Regions from separate parts of the Homo sapiens genome. Here regions 2 and 3 are each linked to region 1. Evidence: promoter capture Hi-C in 16 types of primary human blood cells and fetal thymus (Javierre and others, 2016). All regions are on one chromosome and are shown on one strand. The core of a region is centred on a gene start or on the middle of the fragment in contact, and the rest is flanking DNA. Distances in the headings are between cores, read along the strand shown. Region 1 holds the start of CHSY1 (chondroitin sulfate synthase 1). Region 2 holds the start of SPATA41 (spermatogenesis associated 41). Region 3 overlaps ASB7 (ankyrin repeat and SOCS box containing 7).

Region 1 (5,166 bases), core at 891-3,390:
TGCCCCTGGCAGACTTCTACAGGACCTCAGTTTCTCTCTTCTCCTTCCAACCCTCTCTTGGCCTGGCATATCCCTCTTCTCCCAGAGGGAGTTCCCGTATGTCTTACTCTCCTTCTCCAGGGAATTGTAAGCCCTCAGGCTCAGCCTTTACAAAGAAAAGGGTATCCTTTCTACATTACGAAAGACCCCCATTAAGCCTGCAGGTGAGACAGGTGAGACTGTTAACCTAGGAACTGAGGGACAACTAGGAACCAGGATATTGAGGAGGACAAAATATTTGGCATCCTCAGAATATTATTCCCATCAGATATTTATATACTTTTTTTTTTTTTTTCCTTGAGACGGAGTTTCGCTGTTGTCGCCCAGGCTGCAGTGCAATGCAATGGCACGATCTCGGCTCACAGCAACCTCCACCTCCCGGGTTCAAGCGATTCTCCTGCCTCAGCCTCCCGAGTAGCTGGGATTACAGGCATGCACCACCACCCCCGGCTAATTTTGTATTTTTAGTAGAGTCGGGGTTTCTCCATGTTGGTCAGGTTGGTCTCGAACTCCTGACCTCAGGCGATCCGCCCGCCTCAGCCTCCCAGAGTGCTGGGTTTACAGGCGTGAGCCACCGCGCCCGGCCAGCTTTTCACTGGACACTAGTTTCGAAGAAAACTAGGTAAGTCTAAAGCAGGTTAGAAAATACTGAAATCGTTGAATATGCTACAAAATTGAACATCTGAATCTGGCCAGATTCGTACTTCATGTAAATCACTGTGAATGATGGGGCTGCTGAATTTGGGGGATCTGGTGACTCCTCGGCATTTGTGGTTTATGGTCTTAGTGGAAACCTTTTTCGATGGTTTTCGAGCCTGTAATTCATGGTTGTATGTTCTGTATTTTTCCCAAGACCACTGCTGGAATCCTGTATTCACTGCATAATGAGTATTTTATTTTTAGATGTGGATCACCCCTTAGGGAGGGGCTCTGTGGGAAGGTAGGTAATGAACTATTTTTAATATAAATCACAAGTGTCAAAGAAAGTGGTAATATCCAAAGAATAAACAAGAGTGACCACCATTCAGGTGCCGAGAAGGTATCTGAAGCTCCCACAGGCATTTTAAACTGTGTGATAGTATTTCAACCATTTGGTCAACAATGAAGAAAGATCCAAGGATTGCCCCAGGCATGTGTTTATTTGATTCAATGCAGGTAACTTCTCAGGCCCAGGGAAACACTTTGCCCTTCAAAAGTTTCATTAGAAAACCCCAATATACTGGTGACTAAGTAACAAGACTGAAACTCTACACAAACTTTCGTTGTATGGAGACCTCCGCTTTTGCTGCCTTAGCTGAAGTATTGCAGAGGAAATGTATAAAACTTAAAATCCAGAGTAGAGGATCTGGGACCCAAAATCCGTCTTTAGAAATCCACGGCACTTTTACAGACGGACTATATTAAAGTAGGGACAAAGTCCCAGGCTGGGGGTACTAGCCGGCTATCTGCCCACACAGTATGTAAATGAAAGTAGGGTTTACCATCCAGGGCATTAACTTCATTTTCCTTGTCTTCGAGATCCATTAAATGCTAGTACTGTATGAGAAGCGTGGACCTTAAGTATTAAAGATGGCTTTTTCTTCTTCTTCTTCTTATTTAGCGTAGAAACTAGCAACAGGGAACAAGGTAACTGAATTCACGGTCCACTCGCAGGCGCGCACGTCCCCAGGGCTCCGGGACGGCTGTTCCCTGCGTGCGGCCGCGGGACTGCGGACAAAGCTGCAGTGTGGTCGGGAGCGCGGGGCCGGGAGCGCGGGGCCGGCCCGGCGGCAGGAAGGGCGTGGCCGTGGGGTGCAGCGAGGACGGCCCGTGCGGGAGGAACGTGCGCAGCGTGGAGTCTGGGGGCCGAGAAGCCCCCACTGCAAGGCTGGCTCCCGAGATTCGCGCCCGGGCGCCGCGGTGCGGGAAGCGGCCGTCCTCGCGGGGACGCCCTTGCGCCGGGTGCTAGGTGCGGATCACGGGCAGCTCCGGCCCCGCGGGCGCCGGGCGGGGGCCCACGCCCCCTCCGCCCGCCAGCTCCAGTCGCAGACCGCGCGGGCGGGGCGCCCGAGAGGGCTTTTTTTTTTTTTGGTCAAACTTCGGCCACGTGAACCGCCCCTCATTCACTTTTGCGCCAATCGCGCGGCGCGGACGGATCCCGAGAGGGGCCACGGCTCGCCGCCGGCGGGGCCACTTCATAACGCGCCGTGCGTGACGTGAGGGGCTCCTGTTGCAATGGCGAGCTAAGCCGGAGGATGTGCAGCTGCGGCGGCGGCGCCGGCTACGAAGAGGACGGGGACAGGCGCCGTGCGAACCGAGCCCAGCCAGCCGGAGGACGCGGGCAGGGCGGGACGGGAGCCCGGACTCGTCTGCCGCCGCCGTCGTCGCCGTCGTGCCGGCCCCGCGTCCCCGCGCGCGAGCGGGAGGAGCCGCCGCCACCTCGCGCCCGAGCCGCCGCTAGCGCGCGCCGGGCATGGTCCCCTCTTAAAGGCGCAGGCCGCGGCGGCGGGGGCGGGCGTGCGGAACAAAGCGCCGGCGCGGGGCCTGCGGGCGGCTCGGGGGCCGCGATGGGCGCGGCGGGCCCGCGGCGGCGGCGGCGCTGCCCGGGCCGGGCCTCGCGGCGCTAGGGCGGGCTGGCCTCCGCGGGCGGGGGCAGCGGGCTGAGGGCGCGCGGAGCCTGCGGCGGCGGCCCGGCGGGCGGAGCGGCGCGGGCATGGCCGCGCGCGGCCGGCGCGCCTGGCTCAGCGTGCTGCTCGGGCTCGTCCTGGGCTTCGTGCTGGCCTCGCGGCTCGTCCTGCCCCGGGCTTCCGAGCTGAAGCGAGCGGGCCCACGGCGCCGCGCCAGCCCCGAGGGCTGCCGGTCCGGGCAGGCGGCGGCTTCCCAGGCCGGCGGGGCGCGCGGCGATGCGCGCGGGGCGCAGCTCTGGCCGCCCGGCTCGGACCCAGATGGCGGCCCGCGCGACAGGAACTTTCTCTTCGTGGGAGTCATGACCGCCCAGAAATACCTGCAGACTCGGGCCGTGGCCGCCTACAGGTGAGCCCCTGCTCCCCGGGCACCGCCTCCTGCGTCCGGCATCCCGGCGGCCGGCATCCCGGGTGCTCTCCTGGCTCTCGCCTCCGCCCGCTTCCTAGGCCCTTCTTGGGCTTCCGGCGGGATCGGGTTGCCTCTCGGGAGACGCCGGGCCGAGGGAGAAAAGATCAGAGGCGGGATGGTGAGCGCGGCGCTCAGGAACATGGCCTTTGGGGTCAGATGGACTAGTGTGGCCTCGCTGGGTGTACCTCTCACCCTGATGAAGGCACTTTAGCCTTTGCAAATCGAAGCTTCTCGTTAGAAGGGCCCGACAGATCGGGTCTCCCTCATAATGTTGGAAAACTCATAGCACAGTACCTGATAGTGGAGGCAGTTGGGGCTGATACTGGATTCCCTAAAATGTGCACCTTTGTCCTTGCAAAGCTGGAGCCCGTGTACGTTAATCTAGTTCTAGAACCTTTCCACATCATACTCTCACATTTCGCAGTTGGAGGCACTCCTATAAATGAAAGAGAATGCCCGCAGCATATTGGACCACACCAGTCTGTTGAGTACAGAGAGAGAGAACCTTGGGGAAAAGCAGTTCTTGGCCCTTGGTAGATTCAGTGGAAAACTGCATTCTGGTGTTAATTAGTTCAGCTTGGTGGTGTATGCATGTTATCCAGTAACTGGGCTCTAGTTGGCCAAATGAGTCATAAAAGCAGCTGGAATTGTGTTCAGGTTTAACAAAGGGATTAGCCAATGTAGTCTCTAGAAGGGAGATGATTTTGGAATGGCTGGCATGGTTAGAATCAGATTTGTATTGGAGTGAATTTGAAGTTGGAGAGGGTTGTAGACTCGATAAAGGGATTTGATGGAAACCCTATATGTGTGAAGTATAGAGACACTTACTGTATGGATAAAGTTTGGGTCTTATCCAGCCACAGAGCAAACCAATGTGGGGAATGGTTTTAGAGCATCAGTTGTCTGGTAATGAAATTTCAGAGCAGCCAGTGCTGAGCCAGGCTAAGCTGGTTGCTGTTTGTTCTTATAACCAATACCTTTACACTTCAGTTTTTAAATGCAGTCTTGGTCAGATTTTTCAGGCACTAGATGTTGTGAGGGGAAAAGCATATATGGTCTCCCTTGCCTTTAAGGGAGAAAGTAAAGGACTGAGAAAGAAGGTGAAAGTGGTCTTCAGTGACTGCCCCTTGAATGGCTTGATCCCCATTCCTGCACATTTCCATTAGGGTCCTGCTTAAGTCCAGAACCCACATTCCGCCAGGAAGGGTCCTGAGTGGCTTGAAAAGCTTAGAATGCAGGTATTGTAAATACAGACTAATGCAGGCGGGGCGCCGTGGCTCACGCCTGTAATTCTAGCACTTTGGGAGGCCGAGGCGGGCGGATCGCCTGAGGTCAGGAGTTCGACACCAGCCTGACCAATATGGTGAAACCCCGTCTCTACTCAAGAGTACAAAAATTAGCCGGGTGTGGTGGCGTGCACCTGTAGTCCCAGCCACTCAGGAGGCTGAGGCAGGAGAATCGCTTGAACCCAGGAGGCGGAGGTTGCAATGAGCCAAGATCATGCCACTGCACTCCAGCCTGGGCTACAGAGTGAGACTCCATCTCAAAAAAAAAAAAAAAAAAAAATTCTATCTATCGATCGATAGATAGAGATACATAGACTAGTGCAGTGATTTGGGAACCAGCCTATCAGGATCTCTCCCAGATCTACCTTGCATTACCTGAGGTTTTATGGGATTTTTTTTTTTTTTTTGACCAGAGAAACAGCCGTATCGGAAATCGAGGATGAGCCATATAGATTATTTACAGCATGGTTTTGAAAGTAAATCCGCATGACTCTAGTGTGGTGATAGACCATGTGAAATCACAGTTTTGGGGACAGTTAACAAACCAGTTAGTACAAACAGTAAATTAGGTAACTCCCTTATCTCCCCCATGCCCCCTGAACCAAATACATTTTCATGGTTACGGTATCAATATATTCAAATCAGTGGGGGGCCTAATGCACCAGCAATACTCAGAAAATGTAATGCAGGCCGGGCGCGGTGGCTCACGCCTGTCATCCCAGCACTTTGGGAGGCCGAGGCGGGCGGATCATGAGGTCAGGAGATCAAG
Region 2 (5,166 bases), core at 1,788-4,287, 900 kb after region 1:
GTGCTTACTTCTGGCGCTATTGCCCTGAGTATAGAATGTGGTTAATAATAACGCCTATGTCAAAGGGTTGTGGTGAGGCCACTGGTTCTTGCCTACTTCCTCCTGCTTCTAGCTTTCTGATGCATACATAGGTGGTCACCATGTCCCACAGAGAAAGAAACAGGAACCATGCTCACGCATTAAATCCTTGTGACCCAGTGGGAAATTTTGTATCTTTGTTGACATTACATTTTTATCTATAAAGTGAGATTCTTCATGAGACATCTGTGAGACATAGTCAATATTTTAAGATTTTATAACTCTCAAAGATATAACTTATTGAGTCATCTTGGGCAAGTCATTAGCATTTCTCAGCTCACTTTTCCCACTTATTAGTGAAGGATAATAATTTTTTCCTGGCAGAATTATTTTAAGAATTAAATACTTACTTGTGTATGTTATGTTATACAAATGCCATCCTAGTTGTAAAAACAAAGATAATACGTATATTAAAGGAAGAACCATTCTGGAATCTGGAATTTAAAAAATATTTATTAATTTTTTAAAGTAATACATTCAATAGTTAAAGAAAATGATATAGAAGTTCCTAAAGTGTGAAATAATGACACCTTGCCCAAATCTTTCTACCCTAGACTCACTGCTGAAAGCAATCCTTTTAACTATTTCTGGTTTTAATTTTTCTGATCATTTTCTTCATACCATTAAAATTGTTCTTAATTTTTTTATATGTCAAGACTAGATATGGCAAGTGATGTATTACAATGATGGATAAGGATTTACCTCACTTTTTATCACATTCCCATCCCAATATGAGACTTTTATTTCTTTTATTAATTACCTTTGTGAATTCAAAGTATACATGTATATCTTTACTTCTTATTTTATCAACTATAGGCAATATCTTTCTCTTCACTTTGGAAGATGAGGGAACTTGCCCCCTATACGTTTCTTTGTTTCTTTTTAACTTCCATCTCTTCTCCTTTGTTATCTACTCTTTTACTTTGACATTGTTATGGATGACAACTTTTACAATTGATTCTGCAGCCGGGATGATATATTCTGCTATTTCTTTTTGGTTGATTCTAAAAGTTGAAAATCATTGCACAGTGTTTACATTATGATTTTGATATAATTATTATATAAGTCTTTTCTGAAGTTAAGCATGTATCATGACTATATTTCCCTTTGTTGTGGGATATTTTGGCCCTTTTTTTCTTTCCTTCTGTCTTTTGTGTGTGTGTGTTTCTGTTTAGCTTCTGGACACTGGGACTTCCATTTCCTCTCTGATGGTGTCAGCAACACAATGCAAGCACCACATTCATTGTTTCCTAGGGAAGCTAAACAGTTCCATTCCTGGACCTATACCATGGGTGGGTAGAGAGGCTGCACACAGGGACCAACTAGCCATCTGGCTGCTCTTGCAGATGTACTTACCCTGCTCAGCCTACAGGTTGCTTTTGGGTGCCCTAAATTTTTTATAGCCACTTCTTGCACACCTCCATTAGATGAATGCTTTCATATAAATCTTTAACATGCCTTAGAATTAATTTTAGTTTGTGTTATGACTCTGTAGTTGTTAGCTATTGCTGCATAACAAATTAGTCCAAAACTTAGTGACTCAAAACACTAATAATAATTTATTTTCTCTTGTTTTTTTAACGGTCTGGAATTCAGCCAGGGTGGACACAGTGGGAAGGGCTTGTCTCTACTCATGGTGTTTGGGGCAGACTCAAAGGCTGGGGGCTGAAATCATCGGAAGGCCTGACTGAGGGTAGAGGATCTGCTTCCAAAATGACTCACTCACATGACAAATTAGTTGGTTCTGGCAAGTTGGCCTCCTTTCCAAGAAGTGCCTCTCCACACATGTGCTTCTCTGCAGGGTTGCTTGAGTGTCCTCATGACATGGCTGGTGGTTCCCAAAAAAGCAAGTGATCCAAGAGCAACATTCAGGAATAAGTTCAATCCTTTCTATGACCTAGCCTCAGAACTCACAAAGCATCACTCTCAATACGCCCTATTCATCAGAAGCCAGGCAGTAATTCCAGCACACTTTCTAGGCAGAGGAATTAGGTACACCTGTTGAAGGGAAGCAGGTCATAATTAGAGGATATATTTTTGAACCACCACAGAATCTAACTTAGGTTCGTACAAATATATAAACAGCTGTCCAATACCACATATTGAATAGTCTATCATTACTATATCAGTCTGAGCCATGACTATTTGCATTTACTAAGAATGTGTGTTATTACCATTGAAGACCTTCCAGTGGGACAAGATGTGAAAGCAGAAGACAGTGGTATTGATGATCCTGACCCTGTATAGGCCTAGGCTAATGTGTGTTTGTGTCTTAATATTTGACAAAAAGTTTAAAATGTAAAAAATAAACAACTTCAAAAGTAGGAAAAAAGCTTATAGAATAAGGATATGAAGAATGAAAATATTTTTGTATAGCTGTACAATGTGTTTGTGTATTCAAGCTGTTATTAAAAGAGTCAAAAAATTTAAAAATTCTTAAGGTAGAAAAGTTACAGTAAGCTAAAGTGAATATATTATTGAAGGAAAGAAAATTTTTAAAAATAAATTGAGTGTGGGCCTAGTGTACAGGGTTTTAAAGTCTACAGTAGTGTACAGTAATGTCCTAGGCCTTCGTATTTACTCACCACTCACTTACTGACTCACCCAGAGCAACTTTCAGTCCCGTAAGCTCCAAGCTTACGGTAGGTGCCCTAGGCAGGTGCACCAGTTTCAATCTTTCATACCATATTTTTACTGTATCTTTTCTATGTTTAGATACACAAATACTTACCATTGTGTTACAGTTGCCTACAGTGTTCAGTACCACACTGTACAGGTTTGTAGTCTAGAAGCACAGCCTACAGCCTGGGTGTGTAGTAGGCTGTGCTGTTTAGGTTTGGGTAAGTACACTCTATATTGTTTGCACAATGATGCAATTGCCTGACGATGCATTTCTCAGAACGTCTGCTCACTGTTACGCAACGGAGGACTGTGAATTGGGAGTTTATTTTGTTTTTCAGTCTGTACTGGCAGCGAATCATACATAGCTTAGTTTATCAGACAAGCTGCTTTTCTTGAGCAAAGAAAGAACTAGGAGAGAAACGGGGCTTTGGAACCCTGATGCGGCAATGCTGAAAGAGGAGAAATATCCCAAGGAAGGGAAAGGTGTGTTGCAGAACGATGAAAAATAGGCGGCTTCTCACAGCTGTTCTCAGGGGACGAGACGGGGTGGGATGCAGCTCCGCCGGTGCCTAACACTAAGGGCCCTCATCCTGCCGATTCAGTTGTGTCGGGACCGCCAGTGCTGTCTCCTCGTCAGATGCTGCTTCTGGTCTCCCCGCAGAAGATGCCACTGGAGTTGCCTTTTCAAGGATGGGGACATTTGAAGGCCCTGGACGCTCAGCTCTGAGGCTGGCTGGGATCTCACTAGCACCCCCTGGTGGAGGCCGGAGCCAGGCTGACGCGGGAAAGTGGGGCACGGAAGCGCTGCGGATTGGACCGGCGGCAGCTAGGCCGAAACGCCTGTATTTAAAGGGATAGTAACTCGGACTCGTTCTGCAATATCCCCACAAGGGCCTGACTGAGCGAGCGAGCATGGACGGCCGCGGGGCTTTCTGGACAGTGGCCATTCCCAGAGCCAGGCAGGAAGGCCTCGGGAGGCTGGGGCTCCCGTTCCCGGTGAAGCGGACGCCGCCAGCGCCCCAGAACCCAGGAGGAAGCACACAGGCCCCACAGAGAGTGGTTGGCAAGAGTCACTCGGGGATTAGGATGCCGGCCAAATCGCGGAATTTGAGGCTGGAATCCAAGCTCAACAGGAAAGTAGTGAAATACAAATGGGGAAAACAGGGCTCTGGAGCGGGGAGGGAGCTGGTGCCGGCATTTCCCACCAACGCCGGTTTAGGAAGACGGGACCGATGCCGGCCGCCCCCTGCTGGAGGGGATGTGGCATCTCACGGGCTGCCAGGGAGCGGGGTTGGCTACTCCTGCAACCAGCGTGAAGAGGGTCTCAGGGGAGGCTGTGGTGGGATCCCCCACGTGCCCTTGTTCCTCTCACCGTTACCTCTGGATGCCTCGGGGCAAAGGCCTTCTTCCACCTATAGACAGAGTCTACGCAGGGGTCTTGGAACCCGGGCACACCAGTCCCCAGCTAACGAAATCCCCGAGTTGGGGGATTTGAGAGGGTCACGTTTGGCCCAAGAACCCGCAGTCCTCTTTGGTCTTCGGCCCTCTATTTCTAAGCGTGGGCTTCTGGCACGGCGGCTCTGGGCACAGCCCATGCTGCTTTCGGGCTGGGTGGTTTCAACGACGACAACAATTATCACAGTGACGGTGACCTTCACCCCAACAGGACTGCTGTGTGTGAAGCACTCAAGAGGGCCCCTACAACCAACCTGCCAGGAGTCGGCTCCTGAAAACAGGGTCGGAAAAGGTCAGTGCCCATCAGAATCGAGCTGTCGGCAAAAAGCTGGAGAGGTTAGGAGCTTTGTCTATCTCAAGGGTAACAAACTGCTTTGACCCTGAGGGCTCTGAAGACGACTTTCCCTCACCGCAGCTCTCAAGACAACAGGGATCAGACTCAGAAAGACACTGCCTGTATAAGGCTCTTGTTTGTCTTGTTTTTAATTCCTGCCCTCTGCCTCCAGATCTCAGTCCTCTATCTGTGAAACGGAATTCGGCCTTGCCTGTCCACGAAATGAAGACAAGGCATCTCGTGTGTGTTAAGATGAAACAAGATCTTAGCAAGAGAGTAATGATTTCTTTTTTAAAACATTTTTTACTGTAGTAAAATGTACTATAACGTAAAATTACCATTTCAATCATTTGTAAGTTCAGTGGCATTAAGTACATTCACATTGTCGGGCAGCTGTCAGAGGTGTTCGAACCAGAGCGACTCCATCTTGAACAGGTGCTGCGCAAAATGAGGCTGAGACCTGCTGGGCTGCATTCCCAGGAGGTTAGGCATTCTTCGTCACAGGATGAGTCAGTGGCTGCCAGGGAGGCAGGTTGGTTACCCCAGGAACCAATGAATTGCATCTCAGGGGAGGTTTTGCCAGATACAGGTCACAAAGACCCTGCTGATAAAACAAGATGCGGTAAAGAAGCTGGCCAAAACCTACCAAAACCAGATGGTGACAAAAGCAACCTCTG
Region 3 (5,166 bases), core at 1,872-4,371, 600 kb after region 1:
CAGAGTTCTTCTGCAAGATAAGGAAATATCCATCAAATCAGCCATGGTCTTCAGGAAATACATTACAAAGCGTGGAACACTATTTGTCAGGGGTATACAAGAGAAGTCATGAGATCCAGTGGGCCATATGATGGCTGACCCTTTGTTTCATTTAACAGGTAATAACAAAATAACTAAAGACAGAATAAAGAAAAATTATCTTTGTAACTTAGTATCTTGAGTTCTATCATCAAAACTTGTAAAACTTCCCTGTTACTCCTTCAGTTAAGCACACACAGTTACATTAAGTTATATAAATACAGGCAGAGGATACAAATCCATTTTCTTTCATCTTAGATATCCAAATAAGTGAGATGTGGAACTATTTTTTTATCAAGTAGATAATGTTTTATCAATAGCTGTAAACCATTTTTGTAAACTGTCTTTCAGCTGAGAAAACAATACACTGCTTCTGTCATATTGGAAAAGGAATGATCTCAAGGTTTCCAAGCAACACAGCAATTTTTCAAAGCTGAACTCCCCTGCTGATCATTAGAAATAGTTTCAAATGTCCTATTCTTGGCCTTCATTTGTGCCAAACCCTGGACAAGGCTGCAACAAGATTATAGTTCCAAACCATCCCATCTCTGCACGGGGTGCTAAGCAGTCCCTCTTCCCTTTCTCTTAGTGCCACACCATCATCCACATTCACTTCGGGTCTCTCCTGAATCAAGCTGTGCTTATGTTTTATAGAGGAAATGTGAAATCAAAGTTGTTTTGCTTCATCTCCTGCAGGGTAACTCCGTCAGATGCATTGCTTTGACTGCATGCTGTCCTACGTTTAGAAGCGCTGTGGTCTAAACCCTGTCGTGAGTCAAGGTGTGGCACGCACGGGGCAGGTGGCGATTACGGCCCAAGAAGGCCCAGTGCTGGGTCGATACACTCAACACTGTGATCATCTTTTGTTGGTGGGTATTTGCAGAATGCATTGAACAAATTAAAGGAGGGTAAGAAATGGCTTATCTGGTGACAATGGAGAGTGGTATTGTTTTCCACATCATCATATTCTTAAACAACTCCCAGCGATCTAAAATGCTGATGAAGGAAGGATAGAGTTTTATTTATTTTCACCAAATAGCTGGACATATTAAAAACTTAAGGTAGACTGGAAATAAAATACAACTCCAACATGTTTTAAATCAGATTTGATTTTTTTAATTCAAATTGACCCAAAGCAAAACTTACATTAAAAAGGAAGAACAAAATACATTATGATATAACACACTAGGAGTTACATGAAAGCTAAATTTGTGGGCAAATGGCCTTATCCCAATCACATTCTGGGCTCATGAGCACTCCTGCAGGAAAGTTAGAATCTCAATTTCGTATGGTCCACGCCGGTCATTAAACTACACATTCTTGTCTCTTGGGGTGTGCATCTGACGAGTCATGCTAGAGTCCCTCATGCTCCAGATGTGTACTCTTGCTACTGCCAGAACGCTGGATTCTCTAGTGGAAATGCTGTTCCAAGCATGACTGACAATGAATTAAAAAATGAGACAGTCAAGTCCTCCAAACTAACAGGCATGGATTACTGTGTAGTAAATAGTTTAGAAATATGGGAATTAAATAATCTAAAAAACACTCTTACTCTGCTGTACATTTATAAACACAAATATTTACAAAAAAAAAAAAACACAAAACCTTGTTTTCGAAAGATGAGGTTTGCAGTTCATTAATGATCATAATCTTTTGTAAGCTGGTTTCTTTGGTGTATTTGCCAAATATATTTTTATAAAGGTTTAGTAATAGGCTTAAATAATAAATTTCAAAGGAAACATAAAAGAATCTGACAAATTTGAAAATATTCTGAACATTTTCTGTTCTGTTTCTGGAAAAAACAATCGGTTGATTTTTCTGAAAATATCTGTTCTCCCTATTCATTATGTGACCATGGAATGCTTCTCTGTGAATCCAATTCAAATGCAGACCTGCAGGTGTCACCACTATCATCTACCAGTAACCCACCTGGAGACATTTTAGTTATTGTGAAATGTGATTGGGATTTTATTAACAACAAAAATAAAACATTCTTTTTAAGCTTCCAGATAAATCAAACCTCAAACAATAAATAATGGAATTATACACTTCTTCATTAAATAGAAATTTCAAAATTCCAGGAAGAGCTCTCATAATTTTTTTTTTCTGAAGTCACAGCAGCAATACAGAACAAAGAATTTACCTTAATCTGATCTTTTTACGTGGAATTCCCTGACTCAAACTCAGTGGCTTAGTTTGGAAACCTCTGAATGGCTGGGGAGAGAAAATCTTTTGAAACTAAGTGAATAAATTAACACACACATACGTGGAAATCAGCCCTTGTGCAAGTGTAACATGAACATCACTGATGAGAGTGCAGAAACTCCAGGCACCCCTCTGCCTCCTCCTATCCCTGGGCCTGGGGTTGTAGGGAGAAGTCACACTCAATTCATTTCTAGCCACACCATGTCCCTAACAGTGCTAGTGTGAACTAGCCCTGACCTGGGTATTGGTTTAAAGAATGAGAATACAGCTTGGCAACTGTCTTCATAAGGGACTCTCTCTGGAGATAACTTTTTGGAACATTTTTATGGGGAAGAGGACAGACTACCCGTTCCTATCCATCAGGCTCCAGCTAGTTTGGGGATGGTTATAGAACTGGCCACACTCAGAGTGGCTGCCTGCGAAAGAGTCTATGCCAAAGAGTCTATGGGCCACACCAGCAATCTCCCGAATAATCCTCTTCTCTGAAGCTGCCCGTCTTCGGAAACCTGTGCAATGCTTAGGCACAAGCAGATCAGAGTCTAAGAGCAAACGCTGTGCTTGAGAAAACAGCACTGCTGGCTCTGAAAAAGGTGAAGCCAGAGAAAACTCCTAGTTCTGCTTAGTTACACTTCTGGGTGAAACAGTTTTACACTTCATGACTTAAATCTAGAAATTCAGACGAGAGAAGCCCTTCGTCTTGTAAACTTCTGATAACAAATTTATTAACAGTGTGTTAAATATTTTTTCCCAAAGCACTAAGAACGATACTGGGACATTTGAAAAGGTTCTTCTGAAGTTAATAACACAAATCAAGCCAGAATACGTTTCTGAGGGCATCCTCTTAGATGCCTAATGCCTCTGGGACCTTTTCCATTGTTACTGACACTTTATCATATCCGTGTTTACACGGCAAACATATGCCCAATCAACCCAGAAAATAATTGTCCTGAAGAGCCTCACTGTATATAACCTTAAAATGGGAAATGTTTAATTAGCATATTAGAAATTAGCCAGACTTATAAATGTGTACCCCTTAAAGATTTTACGCTTAAAAAGTTTTTTTTTTAAACTGGGAAGAAAAGAAACACCATGAAGCCACCCCAAATTATTGAACCATTAAAGCCAAATGATTTAACAATTTTTAAGGGAAGACTCGACCACCAGGGTACAAAATTTTCTGCTTAAAGTGAAGTCAAAGACATAGCTTCAGATGGAAATTGCAACTGACATACGATGGCTCTGCAGTGACAACTGAAGCGGCGGCTCCTGTCCTCACGGGCATGTCAAAGCTGGCTGTGAAATGACGACCAGCAAGTGAAATAATGGATAAAATACACCAGAAGGAGTATTGCACTGCAGGCACAGTTTTAAAAACAGAATACACTGGCTTCACAAAGTTATTTTCTTTCCCGTTAATTTTTTTAAAAGTACAACTCTAACTAGAGATAGAAATCGAGATGCAGTGTCTCAGGGTAGTGTACTACAGTTGTTAAAAAAAAAATAAGTTAAAAACAAGAGCACAGCAAAAGAAAAGCAGAGGTACTGGATTTATGTCATAAGCAGAGATACTGGATTTATGTCATCCGAAAGCTACATTAATTAGGAAAAAGAACAGTTTGAAACGGCCAGTTTGTACTCATTAAAAATGAATGAGGTGACAGCGTTACTTCAAACATTTCTTAGGGCATTTTCCAAAAGAACCCAGGGTCGCCCTGGGTGAAACTGTGCCTCCAAACGTTAACAAGTGCTCTGCTGGTTTAGAATACCGTGCTTACCAAGGAACCATAAATTTGGAAAGGGTAAATTCTCCACTCTAAACCTGCTTGTGTCATTTAAGAAAAGACAATTTTTCTAAATGCAGTATTGTATACAAAGCTTGGACCTCTTAAACTTGGACCAAGAAACCAAATTAAGACCTTCAAGCATGTGGTGTGTGTTTTTATATATATATAAAAAATCCCTCCCCTACAATGAAAACCAACCAAACAAACAGAAAACCCAAAAGTGTATACCTGCTTTCTGATTTCACAGCAAATCAGAAATTGCATAGGATATACTTTGTGCAAGGCAAAAAGCCTTTTAAGTATCTAGAATAGAACTCCTAATCTTGCTCACAGTTCTGGCATATCAGATATCATCAAATTTGTGTTTTAAGTAGTCTTTCATGACCTTGGCAATTGGTAGTTCATCAAGTAGCTTTAGGTTTTGAAGGCCTATACATTGTCGAATTTTAATTCGGCACAGGTCCTGCAAGTTTCTGGGCTGTCCTAAAAAGACAGAAAAAAGAAAATGTTACAAAGCCACAAAGCACAATATTTAAGGCACTTTTGAAAAGAACTGTTCATTTCCCTGGAAGTTCTCTCTATGGACTTGACATGCAAAGGACCGGAAAGATACCAACTCAAAGTGTCCTAGGACCTTCATGCGATGCCTTATTTGATCCTTTTCACAACCGTGGGATGGTGGATATTTTCAACTCCATTTTACCAATAAGAAAACTGAGTATCAGATGTAAACAAGTTGCTTAATATCAGACAACCAATTAAGGCTTTCAACTGAGACCAAAAACAGTTTTGATTCTAAGCCTCATATCCTTTCTGTTATAAATCAGGAAAATTCTGGTTCTCGTCCTGACTAGGTCTCTCTCACGCTGGGTGAGCCACTGTGAGCCAATCATTCCTCTGAGCCTTGGCTTCTCAATCTGAAAAGTGTGGGGACTGAAAGAGATGTCCCCTATTGTGAGCCTCCCTTTCAGCTCTGGGTCTAGGACACTGGAGCCCGGACACCCACCACGGTCTCTGTGGAGCTTTCCAAACAAGCTTTCCAGATCTGCTCACCTGTTTTCCGTGATTCTGAACACAGCAGAACCTTGGTTGTAAGGCT

Evidence for each region. Contacts are between HindIII fragments. The CHiCAGO score rates a contact against its expected background, and 5 or more counts as called.
Region 2: the fragment with the promoter of SPATA41 here is called in contact with the fragment with the promoter of CHSY1 in region 1 in 6 of 17 cell types (non-activated CD4 T cells, naive CD4 T cells, total CD4 T cells and 3 more); the score reaches 9.3 in non-activated CD4 T cells.
Region 3: a contact is called between a fragment that was not itself captured here and the fragment with the promoter of CHSY1 in region 1, in 1 of 17 cell types (M0 macrophages). The highest score is 6.2, in M0 macrophages.

The regions. Positions count from the first base shown.
Region 1 is chr15:101,249,022-101,254,187 of GRCh38, reverse strand. CHSY1 (chondroitin sulfate synthase 1) reads left to right here and starts at 2,140. Exons shown (of 3, transcript NM_014918.5): 1 at 2,140-3,051. The coding sequence starts at 2,732. RefSeq lists silencers at 1,676-2,055, 2,226-2,535, 2,726-3,155. The HindIII fragment of the contact is 7,881 bases long and covers 1-3,340 here.
Region 2 is chr15:100,348,589-100,353,754 of GRCh38, reverse strand. SPATA41 (spermatogenesis associated 41) reads left to right here and starts at 3,037. Exons shown (of 2, transcript NR_028139.1): 1 at 3,037-5,021. LOC105371021 (a long non-coding RNA gene) reads right to left here and starts at 4,149. Exons shown (of 3, transcript XR_007064777.1): 1 at 4,073-4,149; 2 at 2,810-3,380; 3 at 1,611-2,076. RefSeq lists an enhancer at 3,610-3,869. The HindIII fragment of the contact is 2,620 bases long and covers 2,717-5,166 here.
Region 3 is chr15:100,647,707-100,652,872 of GRCh38, reverse strand. It overlaps ASB7 (ankyrin repeat and SOCS box containing 7), which reads right to left. Exons shown (of 6, transcript NM_198243.3): 6 at 1,172-4,550. The coding sequence ends at 4,411. Among named protein-coding and RNA genes, the nearest start is that of ASB7, 48 kb to the right of the region's middle. The HindIII fragment of the contact is 2,078 bases long and covers 2,083-4,160 here.